Linked DNA regions of Homo sapiens: regions 2 and 3 are each linked to region 1. Evidence: promoter capture Hi-C in human tissues and cell types (Jung and others, 2019). All regions are on one chromosome and are shown on one strand. Each heading gives the region's core, a stretch centred on a gene start or on the middle of the fragment in contact. The rest is flanking DNA. Distances are from core to core; before and after follow the strand shown.

What was found. The method cuts DNA at HindIII sites, captures the fragments that hold promoters and counts their contacts. A contact is called where the count stands out against the background at its distance.
Region 2: a contact is called between a fragment that was not itself captured here and the fragment with the promoter of KANK2 in region 1, in 2 of the 25 tissues and cell types used here (H1 embryonic stem cells and lymphoblastoid cells).
Region 3: a fragment that was not itself captured here is called in contact with the fragment with the promoter of KANK2 in region 1 in 2 of the 25 tissues and cell types used here (dorsolateral prefrontal cortex and lymphoblastoid cells).

The regions. Positions count from the first base shown.
Region 1 is chr19:11,196,017-11,200,463 of GRCh38, forward strand. KANK2 (KN motif and ankyrin repeat domains 2) reads right to left here and starts at 1,529. Exons shown (of 13, transcript NM_001136191.3): 1 at 1,469-1,529. It overlaps DOCK6 (dedicator of cytokinesis 6), which reads right to left. Exons shown (of 48, transcript NM_020812.4): 47 at 4,292-4,447; 48 at 3,279-3,523. The coding sequence ends at 3,481. RefSeq lists a silencer at 1,393-2,012. The HindIII fragment of the contact is 26,033 bases long and covers 1-4,447 here.
Region 2 is chr19:10,913,891-10,918,274 of GRCh38, forward strand. It overlaps CARM1 (coactivator associated arginine methyltransferase 1), which reads left to right. Exons shown (of 16, transcript NM_199141.2): 6 at 1-164; 7 at 2,517-2,607; 8 at 2,806-2,887. Among named protein-coding and RNA genes, the nearest start is that of YIPF2, 13 kb to the right of the region's middle. The HindIII fragment of the contact is 8,993 bases long and covers 1-4,384 here.
Region 3 is chr19:10,890,681-10,895,364 of GRCh38, forward strand. The region is part of intron 1 of CARM1 (coactivator associated arginine methyltransferase 1); the gene reads left to right. Among named protein-coding and RNA genes, the nearest start is that of CARM1, 21 kb to the left of the region's middle. RefSeq lists an enhancer at 3,327-4,128. The HindIII fragment of the contact is 5,985 bases long and covers 1-4,684 here.

The sequences.
Region 1 (4,447 bases), core at 279-2,778:
CTGGGTAAATAGTATAGTAACAGTAATACTAACATCAACTCTTTTTTTTTTTTTTTTCTGAGACGGAGTTTTGCTCTTGTCGCCCAGGCTGGAGTGCAATGGCGCGATCTCAGCTCACGGCAACCTCTGCCTCCCAGGTTCAAGCGATTCTCCTGCCTCAGCCTCCTGAGTAGCTGGGATTACAGGCACCTGCCACCACGCCTAGCTAATTCTGTATTTTTAGTAGAGATGGTGTTTCTCCATGTTGGTCAGGCTGGTCTCGAACTCCTGACCTCAGGTGATCCGCCCGCCTTGGCCTCCCAAAGTGCTGGGATTACAGGCATGAGCCACTGCACCCAGCCTAACATCAACTCTTTTAATTGTCATGACAATTCTATGAGATGGGCACTTATCGCCCCGTTTCACAGACAGGGGATGCAGAGGGTACAGAAAGGTACAGTGGCTTCCTCGGGGTCACTGGGGCCATGGGGAAGTGGCTGGGCCTGAACATGAACCTAAGCCTGGTGGATCCCCCCACTGCCCACCAAGCCACCACCCTCAGACTCCACATCAGATATCTCTACCCGTTTCCCAGATACGGAGACTGAGGTCTGAGGGTACTCAGTCATCTCACCGCCCTCGATGAGGACCAGCACGTCCCGAGTAAGGGGAAGAGAAAGGAGACGAGGGGGTGTGGTGGGGGAGATGGATGTCTGTGGCTGAGACCCTTCTCTCGCCATGGGACCCCTGGGGAATGGGGAAGGGGTGACAGGATAAGACAGAGATGGAGAGACTGGAGCCTATAAGAGGGGACAGGTAGGGAGCGCAGGGAAGGGGCGCGGGTCTCCCCAACCCACCACCCAAGACCGGCCTGCACATCGCGGAGGTCGGTGGTGGTGGTGGGGGGGGGTCTTCCCGCCCCAAACTCGGGGTGGGGGGAGGCGAGAAGGACCCCGCCCCGTGCAGAGAGGGGGCGGGGCCTGTGGGATCCCGGGCTAATGGCAAACAGCTGCCGCTCCCCACGCCGGCCCAGCCGCCAAGCCCAGGCCCAGCCCGGCCGGACGCCCGGCCGCCTTCCCGCCGTCTGGGGCATGGCCGCGGAGGAGGGCGAGGGGGGACAGTGCGGGGAGAGGGCAGAGCCGGGGAGGAACAGAGGCAGAAAGTGGGACAGAGACAGGGGAGAGCGGGCAGAGGGGAGCCAAGACAGGAGAAACGGGCAGGGCACGAGGAATCGATGGGGGGTACTGGGAGGAATCGATGGGGGTATGGGGTCAAAGACGAGGAGGGGGCAGGGACGCGGGGACAGACACTCCAAGTCTGGAAAGTTTGGGCACAGAAGGTGGAGTTGGAGGCAGCGGCTCGTTGAGACCAGCGAGGTCGTGTCCCAGGGTTGGAGGCGGGGGGTAGGGTAGTAGGTGTGTGTGGAGGGGGTGCACACTCGATCCCCGAACCAGACTTGAACCCCTACCCAGCCCCGGGTCCCACTCGCCTTGCGCGCTCCGGCCGCTGCCTTCCCTGGGTCCCGCCGCCCGAGCGTCTTCGCGCGCGCCGCAGCCTGGGCGCCCGGCCCTCGGAGGTGGCTCCGCCCGCACCACGCCCCCTCCGGCTGGTCCCGCCCCCCCAGCCGGCACCGCCCCCTCCAGCCGCCCGGGCGCCCCGGCCGCGGTGGGGGGTGGGGATGGAGAGACGCTGGTTGGAGACTGGATCTCACCTGGACAGCAGGTGTGTGTGCGCGCCGGGGTGTCCGGCCTCGTCCTTCCTTCCTCCCTAAGTCCCCGAGGCAGGGTCCTCCCACTGCCGGCCTCCCCCCCACCGCCTGCTGTCCCTGGGCCGCTGCGGGGGGCGGAACGGCTCGGCGGCGGGAGGGGGTGGAGCTGGCCGGGGCCCAGCTCGGGGAGGGCGCGCGGGGCGGGCGCGGCAGCGGGAGGTCACCCCTCCCCCAGGCGGCCCAGGGCTGGAAGCGGCCCAGCGCAGTCCTGGCACACGGTGGCGTGACCGCCGCGCGAGAAGGGAGGCTGCAGAGTCCTGGGCGCCGGCGCCAGCCAGACCTGCATTCCCATCCCAGACCCACCAAACTTTTGCTGCTCTGTGCCTCAGTTTATTCATCTGTAAAATGGAGATGATCATGTTAGCTACCTGATAGGAGCGTTGAGAAGATTCACTGACCATTAGGAAGGGGCCTAACCATCAGGAAGGAGGCCCTTCGGGTTAAAAACTCTCATAAATGGAGTGGCCTACTTTTGCAGAGATCTTTCTGGGAGCCCTTTTAGTACACAGCCAGCCACTCAGCAAGGGCTTAATAAATATTATTAAGCCGGCGAGGTGGCTCACACCTGTAATCTCAGTGCTTAGGGAGGCCAAGGCAAGAGGACTGCTTGAACTCAGGAGTTCGAGACCAGCCTGGGCAACATAGCAAGACCCTGTCTATGCAAAAAAATTTTTAAGTGAAAAAAAATTAGGCCAGGCGCAGTGGCTCATGCCTGTAATCGTAGCACTTTGGGAGGCCAAGGTGGGCGGATTATTTGAGCCAAGGAGTTGGAGACCAGCTTTGGCAATATGGTAAGACGCCATCTCTACAAAAAACAAAATACAAAAAACCACCTGGGGCCGAGAAATGGCTCATGCCTGTAATCCCAGCACTTTGGGAGTCCGAGGTGGGTGGATCATCTGAGGTCAGGAGTTCAAGACCAGCCTGGCCAACATGGTGAAACCCCTTCTCTACTAAAAATACAAAAACTATCCTGGCATGGTGGTGCACATCTGTAATCCCAGCTACTCGGGAGGCTGAGGTATGAGAATAACTTGAATCTGGGAGGTGGAGGTTGCCGTGAGCCGAGATTGCACCACTGCACTGCAGCCTGGGTGACAGAGTGAAACTCTGTCTAAAAAAAAAAAAAAGAAAAAGAAAAAAAAGCCAGGCACAGTGGCATGTGCCTATAATCTCTGCTACTCAGGAGGCTTGAGCCCCGGAGTTTGAGGCTGCAGTGAGCTATGACTGTGACACTGCATTCCAGCCTGGGGGACTGAGTGAGAGCGTCTGTTAAAAACAAACAAACAAAAACCAGGTATTGTTATTGCAGGTAAGCATGTGACATTATTTGTGTGTTGCCTTCCCTACTAGAACATCAGCTCCACAAGGGCAGGAATTTTTGCCTGTTGTCACCACGATGTCCCTGGCACCCAGTATGTTCTTGGTGTCCCCATTGATGATGCAGGGATGTGTGGATATGGGGCAGTGGACTGTGAGCATGTGATGAGCATGTGACCCAGCCCCTAGTGACCGCACCACATGGCACAGGTTGCTTATAAAAACCATTTTAAATTAAAAAAGGGAGGAAGCATCAGTGCACACAGATGGGGACACAGGGGCAGAGGGCCCAGCCCCAAGTACAGTGTGGTCACCCCACAGCCCAGTGGGCACCAGGGCAGACTCCCCTCGCAGCACAGACAGCTGAGGCCCGGGTGCTGGTTCCTCTAGGTACAGCTTTGGTCCTTGTGGGCTCAGAGGTCTGCCTTTCGGAAACTTGCTCTGTTCAAGGAGTTCCTGGAAAAAGAATGAGGGTGGGTCAGCATGGCCATGGGGCCCCCAACTCCATAGACCTCCCAGCCCACATCCTCTTCCTCCTCCTCCTCGTCTTCCTCCAAGGATCCTTCTGGGATCTCTCCTGTCCCTGATCTGGCTGTGGGATTCTCCGATTCTCTCTTGCAGTCCACCACGGAAGGTATGAATCATCCCCATTTTACAGATGTAGAAACTGAGGCTCAGAAAGATGAATTCATGTATCTGGGAAATGACTGCTCAGAGCCTGCCCTGCCTTTGTACATCTGGATGACATATTCAGATGCTTATGCAAAATTGAAGCCACCGCAGCCAGGCGTGGTGGTGGCTCATGCTGTAATTCCAGCACTTTAGGAGGGCAAAGCGGATGGATCACCTGAGATCAGGAGTTCGAGACCAGTCTGGCCAACATGGTGAAACCCTGTCTCTACTAAAAATACAAAACATTAGCCAGGCGTGGTGGCAGATGCCTGTAATCCCAGTTACTCAGGAGGCTGAGGCAGGAGACTCGCTTGAATCTGGGAGGCGGAGGTTGCAGTGAGCCAAGACTGTGCCAACTGCACTCCAGCCTGGGCAACAGAGGGAGAGTCTCTCAAAAAAAAAAACAAAAAAAAAACCGGAAACAAAACAAAGTCCAAGCTACCAGCAAACATGTTGCTGTGTATGTGTACAACAGCCCCCATCCTGTACCTGTCCTGGTCTGCCTCTGCATCCCCTCTCTAGTCTCTAGGATGGGGGCACTAGGTCAGGCACCTGAGGCCGGGTGGGGTGGGTGCCATCAGCTGGGGCAGGCGCTGGGTAAGCAGGGGCTGCAGAGCCTCCCGCAGGCGGCAGTAGTTGCGCTCCAGCTCACGGTGGTACTCCTTCTGGTCCGGCCCAATCAGGGCCTTATTTTTCCGCAGCGCATCC
Region 2 (4,384 bases), core at 595-3,094, 280 kb before region 1:
TAACAACCTGACGGACCGCATCGTGGTCATCCCGGGCAAGGTGGAGGAGGTGTCACTCCCCGAGCAGGTGGACATCATCATCTCGGAGCCCATGGGCTACATGCTCTTCAACGAGCGCATGCTGGAGAGCTACCTCCACGCCAAGAAGTACCTGAAGCCCAGCGGTGAGCACTGGGGGGTACACAGGCCAGGCCCCTCGGTGGAGGCCCTGGCTGCCGCTGAGCCAGGCCATCAGTGCTTCAGCTCCCTGCTTACTGTCGGTGGCCCGGGGTGTAGGGAAGCCTGGGCTTTTCCCCCGCTCCCACCCCAACCCCACTCCAGCCAGCTGTGGCTTTTGGAGCCCTGGGCCCCAAACACGGCCAGACACCCAGCTGCCCACTCGCCCAGACAGGGTACACAGGATCTCCTGGCACCTCTGCCGTCCCATGTCCTGCTCCTGCGGGACAGCCTCTGGCTGGGAGTGGGGATTGGGACAGGTTCTGTGGTCAGCAGTTCCCCAACAAGCCCTGCTCTCCTCACAGTCCAGGAGGTGGGGTGGGCGAGCATGTGTGCAAATGCAGGGGTGTGGGTGCGAGTGTACGTGTGTGAGGAGGTGAGGTAGCTGTCTGGCAAGCCCATCTGTCACTTCCCATCCGTGCCTCTGGGTATGGCCTCTGGTCACTGGGTGACTGTTTCTTTTTTTGAGACAGAGTTTCACTCTTGTTGCCAAGGCTGGAGTGCAGTGGTGCGATCTCGGCTCACTGCAACCTGCACCTCCCCAGTTCAAGCAATTTTTGTGCTTCAGCCTCCTGAGTAGCTGGGATTACAGGTGTGCACCACCACGCCCAGCTAAGTTTTGTATTTTTAGTAGAGATGGGGTTTCACCGTGTTGGTCAGGCTGGTCACGAACTCCTGACCTCAGGTGATCTACCCGCCTCAGCCTCCCAAAGTGTTGGGATTATAGGCATGAGCCACTGTGCCTGGCCTGGGTGACTGTTTCTATTTGCCCATCTGTCTTGGGGTCTGTGCAGCCCTGACGCCTGAGGCATGTGCCTGTGGCTCTTCTCATGCTAGGTATGTGAGCGTCTGAGCATTTCTGTACAGGCAAGCAGCTGTGTGTGCGTGTGGCAGGGTACAGGTCCCCAGCCAGGGTAGCAGCCATGGGATGGAGCGTGGGCAGCAGCAGGCTGGTGGGGCTTGTGCAGGCAGGGGCAGGGGGGAAGCTTCCACTCTCATCTCTGGCCCGCCCTGGATCCAGGCCCTAGGGTCCTGGCTGGCTGTGCTCCTGGAGGTGGGAGGTGGCGTCCCACAGCTGTGTCTCATGTCTTGGGTGTGAGTATGGGAAGCAAGGCTGCTCCAGGGGCTGTGGGCCCCACTCTCCTCCCCTTCTGCCCTGATGGTGGGGATGGGGGTGGGGACAGCCCCAGCAGAGAGGGCCCCTCCCGATGGGACATGAAGCCAGATGGCAGTCAGGCTCTGTGGGCAGCTGCATGTGCCCCCGACGTCCCAGCAGCCAGCTTGCAGGGAGGGGGGAGGCCAGGCCTGTGCAAGGAGGACTCCTGTCCAGCTCAGGAAGCTCTTCCAGGGGTTAAAGGCAGCCCTCCCCTCTCCCAGTCACATGTCTTCTGGTCAGCAGGAGCCAGAGGTTCCTTCCAGGCTGGGTCACTTCCCATGGTGCCCCCAGGTCCCCCAGGGCAGAAGCCGCAGCATGTGCATCTCCCTCCCCGTTCCAGCAGCTGCAGCCCTGCAGCTCTCGCCTCGGGTACAGCCTGGTGGCGTAAGGAGGAGGCAGAGTCCCACTGATACCTCAGGATCTCCTCCCCCAGCTTGCAAGGCTGGGGGGCCCACATCTGGAGGCCAGGTGCTCCTTGGGGCAGGCGGGGCTGCGGGGCCCTGATCCTCCCTGCCACTGGCCCTGACTCATGCGTCTACCCTTGAGTCACAGAGGGAGGCCCTGCCCTTCCCTCAGTCTGTGTGCCCAGACCAGGCAGGCCAAGTGGCCCATCCTGCCGGCTGGGTGCCTGTGCCAGAACCTAGGCAGTCCCTGTGGTGTGGATTTGGCTTCCCCCACCTGGCTCTTGGCCTCAACTGAGGTCCCCAGCGGCGTTGGGGTAGCCCGGGGCCCACCACCCTCCCTCTGTCCAGAGCAACTTTGCTATGCTTTCCCGGCTGCACACATGCACAGACGGCAGGGCCTGAGAGGCAGCGCCTGGCCACATCCCGGGCACTGCCTGCTTCCCCGTGAGTCTTTGGCAGGTCCCTCACACCTGCCAGGTCTAGTAATAGGACATAAAGATGAGCCACCAGCCTCCCAGTCTCAGGTGGAATTCGTGAGCTGGTGCAGGTCAGGTACCCGTGGTGGTGATGAAACACTGATCAGAATAGGCGCTCGGTGCCACTGTCACAGGAGTGCAGGAACGAATGGATGACAGGCTGGGAGCACCCAGGGTTGGGGGTCTTGGGGTCCTTTGGAAGCTCTGCCAGGCAGTGTGGGATGTGTCACCTGACGCCAGCACCCCTCCCTGCCCCACTCCCAGGAAACATGTTTCCTACCATTGGTGACGTCCACCTTGCACCCTTCACGGATGAACAGCTCTACATGGAGCAGTTCACCAAGGCCAACTTCTGGTGAGTGTGCCCTGGGTGTCCCGCCTGGGCCCCACAGCCTGCCTTCTCAGGGACAGCCCCAGCTCCCCAGAGAGCCTGCACTCCTCTTTTTCTGAAAGACTTGGGCTAGATGAGGGCTGACTGGGAGAGAAGGCAGGGCTACCCCACCTGCCTCTTCTGCAGCCCTGACCTTGCTGTGGGGGTGGGGCCTGTCCACAGGTACCAGCCATCTTTCCATGGAGTGGACCTGTCGGCCCTCCGAGGTGCCGCGGTGGATGAGTATTTCCGGCAGCCTGTGGTGGTGAGTAGGGCCTCCAGGGTACTGCTGCAGTGATCACTTGCCATTGCTGTGCAGCTGTGCAGCCCTCAGGAAGCTACAGCCCCTCTCTGAGCCCTCTCCTCTGCCCTGCACAGCGCTCTCACAGAGATTTGGGCCAAAAGTGTCAATGCATGTAGACACTTAGCACACAGCACACATGCAATACATGTGGAACATTATTAGGTGAGGCTAAGGCAGAGGGGGCATTTAGGCTCAGGAGTTCAAGATCAGCCTGGGCAACACAGAGACGCCATCGCTATTTTTAAAATTAAAATAAATAAATAATAAAAATAAAAAAGAACCATTACTAGATGAATTTATCCTTGGTGAGCTGATGTGATTTATTGATTGATTTTACTTGAGATTTTTGATACATAGATCCATGATTTAAAAATCAAAAGGAAAAAAAAGCTAGGTGCAGTGGGTCACACCTGTAATCCCAGCACTTTGGGAGGCCAAGGCGGGCAGATCACGAGGTTAGGAGATTGAGACCAACACGGTGAAACCCCATCTCTACTAAAAATACAAAAAATTAGCCAGACGTGGTGGCGGGCGCCTGTAGTCCCAGCTACTCAGGAGGCTGAGGCAGGAGAATGGCGTGAACCCGGGAGGCAGAGCTTGCAGTGAGCCGAGATCGCACCACTGCACTCCAGCCTGGGCGACAGAGTGAGACTCCGTCTCAAAAAAAAAGAAAAAAAGGTTCCATTTTATTCTGTTTTCCCCCTGCTCTTGATGTTTTTCATTCGTTTTGGGAGACTCTTGGACTATCTTGGATACTATCTCTTTAAACACTACGTCTGCCCCATTCTTTCTCCTTCTGGGATTCCAATTACGTGTACAGTGAACCTTTTCACCATATCTCAGATGATTGTTATACTCTTTTCTGTCTTTTCCATCCATTTTTTTCTCTCATTTTCTTTTTCTTTTTTTTTTTTTTTTTGAGACGGAGTCTTGCTCTGTTGCCCAGGCTGGAGTGCTGTGGCATGATGTCAGCTCACTGCAACCTCCACTTTCCGGGCTCAAGCGATTCTCAGACTCCTGAGTAGCTGGGAGTACAGGCGCTTGCCACCACTCCCAGCTAGTTTTTTGTAATTTTAGTAGAGATGGGGTTTCGCCATGTTGGCCAGGCTGGTCTGAAACTCCTGACCTTAGGTGATCCGCCTGCCTCGGCCTCCCAAAGTGCTGGGATTACAGGCGTGAGCCACCATGCCCAGCGTGTTCAGTCTTTTGTGATATCACTGGGGAGTGAATGAGTGAAAAAAGCAGGAAATATTTTGGTGGTATTATGCAAATTTTGTATTATGATGAGGGTGCCTTGGAAGAGGCCACAGTTTGAGAAGGTGCTGCTTTATGGTACAGCCTTTGGTAATGTTAATGCAAGTCCAGTGGTTAGCCTCATTACCAATATGCTGCTGAACCACCCGTTAGCTTTTATTGTTTTTTGAAACAGGATCTCACTCTGTTCCCCAGGCTGGAGTA
Region 3 (4,684 bases), core at 569-3,068, 310 kb before region 1:
ATATATACACACATATATACACACACATATATACACATGAATATATAGACACATATATACACATGCATATACACACACACATATACACACACACATATATATATATATATATATATTTTTTTTTTTTTTTTTTTTTTTTTCTTGGTATAGCTCTATCCTTCCTGAAGTCCCAGCTCCTTAGGAGGCGGAGGTGGGAGGATTGCTTCTTGAGCACAGGAGGTCGAGGCTGCAGTGTGCTATGACTGGGCGGGCCATTGCACTCCAGCCTGGGTGACAGAGGGAGACCAAAACTGAGTCAGTGTTCCCAAGCAGTGTGTGAAGCTGATTCTCTGTCAGCCACGTGCCAGATGGGTTGGGTCCCAGGGGTGGCCACCTGGGGGACAGGGCCAGACACTTGTTCTGGGCCCAATATGGCCTTGTGTCCAGAACTCTCTCGGTGGCTCCTTCTCTCGACCCTTTGCCTTGAGCCGGAGCACTGTGGGGACACAGGAACCAAGACTGGTGTTTTGTGCCAATGCCACACTACTGTGTGCCCGTGGGTCTTGGGCCGGGCATGGGTGGGTTCGTCCTCATGGCTACACAGTGAACCATGTGTTATTTTATTTTTCTAGACACTAAAGCTGAGGTGTCGGGAGGTGATGGTCCCTTGCTTGCAGGTGGCAGAGCTCAGGTTCAAACCTGGATCTTACTGCACCTGGCTCGTTTGGGAGGCCTCCCTTGCTGGAATGCAGGTCAGGGAGCCCCGATGCCCTTGGGCTGACTGCCCCACGTCCATCACACCCACTGAGGGCCGTGGGGTGGGTGCAGGGCTTGTTCTGGGAGATTCCAAGCTGAGGAAAGCAGGGCTGTCCGCCAGCCTCCAGCTGGGTCACAGAAGAGGCTCAGGGCCTGTTCCCACTCCCCTCCCCCAGCCAGCAGGGTCCAAAAGGATGTTGGGGGGGTGGTCCCCAGTCCGGCCTGCCCACTCTAGGGAGGGGCCCAGATAACTTGCGTAGACGCCGGCCCTCCCGCCCCCAGCCTTCGCCATTGCCTTTTGTCTGGCTATCTTTCATGTACAAGGGAGAAATTCAAGCCACTCAGGAGGGTGTAACATGAAAAGTCAGTCTCTCCTTCTCTCCGCACTGCCCGTGACCTGTGGTTTCTCAGGCACATACAAGCGCGCACGCATAAATCTCTCCTCCAACCTGCTGGGCTTCAAGTTATGCACGTTCACACAATGGCAAAGGAGGGTGCGGATTGAAAAGTATGACTTGCTTCCCGGAGGCAGCACTGAAGTCACTTTATTGTGTTTCCAGACAAGCCCCATGAATGCAGTGTGCACTGCCCCTCCTCCCTCTGTCCCTTCCCCGCCCATCTGTACACCTGTGGTGCGTAGGTTTTACACCACTCTGTGCCTTACGTTGTGGCTCGATCATTTAACATGTCAGTGTGTACCGATGGAAATTGATCTCTTTTAATTTGCCACATCTTCATTTATTCATTCTTTGATTAATTGATGGATATTTAGGTTTTCTGCTTTGGGGGCATTCAGATCCAGGTGTATCTCTGCAAGTAGAGCTTGTAGCATACATAAGGCCCTGCAAAGGGATTTCTGGGCCGGAAGTTTTTGATCAGTTGCTCAGACATAGTTCTGATGTGCTGGGGAAGTGCCCGTTCAGGGCCATGGCTGCAGGGCTCCTGGACACCCAGCTCCGGTGCTGGAGTGGGGTTGGGATTCGCCCAGAGGCCAGGGCTGCGCCAGAGGAGCCCAGGGTGACCTCATGGTCCTCAGATACCCGGGGCTGGGCAGCACAGTGGAACAGCTGCTCCAGAGCTTCTCCGAGGACGACATCGGAGGATCCGACTCAGGTTACGGCAGGAGAGGGAGGCCAGGCCGGGTTAGGGTTCTGGGGTTTGGGATTCTCTTCCGAGGCTGGCATTGATCTGTTGCTGATGATGGTAACAGCAGCTGCTCTTGTTTATGAAGTACTTAACACCTCCAGCTCCCTCCATTACCTAGGAATCCTCACTGCAGGGAGGGGTTTTCATCCCCATTTTGTGCCTATTTTATTTATATTATTTTATTTTTTGAGGCAGGGTTTTGCTCTTGTTGCCCAGGCTGGAGTGCTATGGCACGATTTCTGCTCACTGCAACCTCTGCCTCCTGGGTTGAAGTGATTCTGCTGCCTCAGCCTCTTGAGTAGCTGGGATTACAGGTGCCCGCCACCATGTCTGGCTAATTTTTTGTATTTTTCGGTAAAGATGGGGTTTCACCATGTTGGCCAGGCTGGTCTCAAACTCCTGACCTCAGGTGATCCACCCGCCTCAGCCTCCCAAAGTGGTGGGATTACAGGCGTGAGCCAACACTCCCGGCCCTGCCCATTTTATTTATTTATTTTTATTTTTATTTTTTTCAGATGGAGCTTTGCTCTTTTTGCCCAGGTTGGAGTGGAATGCAACCTCTGCCTCCCAGGTTCAAGTGATTCTCCTGCCTTAGCCTCCCGAGTTGCTGGGATTACAGGCATGTACCACCATGCCTGGCTAATTTTATATTTTGAGTAGAGACGGGGTTTCACCATGTTGGCCAGGCTGGTCTCGAGCTCCTGACCTCACATGATCCACCTGCTTCGGCCTCCCATAGTGCTGGGATTACAGGCGTGAGCCACTGCCCCCACTGTGCCTATTTTATTTCATTTTGAGACAGAGTCTTACTCTCTCCCCCAGGTTGGAGTGCAGTGGTGCGATCTCGGCTCACTGCAACCTCCACCTCCTGGCTTCAAGTGATTCTCCTGCCTCAGCCTCCTGAGTAGCTGGGACTACAGGCACCCGCTACCACGCCCGGCTAATTTTTTTTATTTTTAGTAGAGATAGGTTTTCACCGTGTTAGCCAGGATGGTCTCGATCTCCTGACCTTGTGACCCGCCTGCCTTGGCCTCCCAAAGGGCTGAGATTACAGGCGTGAGCCACCGCCCCCTGTCATTGTGCCCATTTTATAGATGGGGCTCCTGAGGCCAGGGGTGAAGGCAGGTGCTAGTTCGGGGGATCCAAGCCCTGCCAGACTCTGCTGCATGTGGGCTCTGACCTAGTGAAGTTCCAGGATGGTGCCCTGGGGCCGGGCTGTCAGGCCCTCCACGTGGGTTATGTCACCTCACCCTTTGGGATGTGTCAGGGTGGTGGTTGAACAGATGAGGAAGCCAAGGCCAGGGCTGGAGAACAGTGGGTTCGGCCCTGAACCCAGTCCCTCCTTGATAAACCTAAGTCCTCCTTGATGCCAAAGCCCATCCTTTCAGCCATCTCCCTGCTGGGTGACCCTAGGGTCATCTCTGCCGCCTCTTGGGCACATGGGTGCCAAGCCACACAGGAATGGGGGGAAGCTTCTGGTTCCCAGTTTGGAAACAAGGTCACCTCTGCCAGGGCAGTGGGGCCTGGCTCAGGTGTCGCCTCCTCCCGAGTCTGCCTGGAATCTGAATTGGGCCTGGTCCGCATGCATCAGCTTCCGTGCTTTCCCTCCTCTCAGCGCTTACTGCCAGTTCCTGTTGTCCGTCTCCTCACTGCCCTGCTGGGTGCTGTCTGCCTCCCACTGTGGACTCCCAGCATGGGAGGGCCGGGGGTGGCTCTCTGGTTCACCGCCAGGTCCTCTGTGCCTGCATGTGGTCCGGGCAGAGCAGGCTGAGCAGAGATGCCAGCTGAGTGGGCTTCAGAAAGCGTGTTTTTTTTTCCGTGCCTGTGGGATGGGAGTTGGCCACGGGGGGTCGGGGTGTCTCCCTCTTTTTACCTAACTCTCCTCCTTTGATCGGGAATATTTTCCTCTGGAAGGTGAAGAGCCCATGTTGTCTTTGGCAGCAGGAGGCGATTTAATACAAGACGTACCATTTGGACAACGGCTTCTACAGCTACCAGCTACTCCCCCGCCCCAGGTTTGCCGAGATAAATAGCTTTAATTATTCCTCCATTTGGTGGCTACAGTTGTGTTCCCCCTGGAGATGCAAGAGCTTGAAATGTGGCCTTTCTCCCCCGAGCTGCTGCTGCTTTTCTTCTTGCCCTCCACCTCCTTGTGTTTTTTTTTTTTTTCTCTCTCTCTCTTTTTTTTTTTCTTCTTGAAATGGGGTCTCACTCTGTCGCCCAGGCTGGAGTGCAGTGGCACGATCTCAGCTCACTGCAGCCTTGACCTCCCAGGCTCAAGGGATTTTCCTGCCACAACTTCCCACATGGTTGGGACTACAGGTGCGCATCACCATGCCCAGCTAATTTTTTTATTATTATTTGTAGAAGATGGGGTCTCACTGTGTTACCCAGGCTGGTCTCAAACTCCTGGGCTCAAGTGATCCTCCCCGCTCAGCTTTCCAAAGTGTTAGGATTACAGGCGGGAGCCACTGTTCCCAGCCGGCCTCCTTATTCTCTATCTGCCAAAGAATGTGGCCCTGATGTCACGACAGCATGGGAGGTTCTCTTTTTTTTTCTTTTTGAGAGAGTCTCGCTCTATCACCCAGGCTGGAGGGCAGTGGCGTGATTTCTGCTCACTGCAACCTCCGCCTCCCAGGTTCAAATTATTCTCGTGCCTCAGCCTCCCAAGTAGCTGGGATTACAGGTGCCCACCACCACTCCTGGCTGATTTTTGTATTTTTGGTAGAGATGAGGTTTCACCATGTTGGCCGGACTAGTCTCAAACTCCTGGCCTCAAGCGATCCACGTGCCTTGGCCTCCC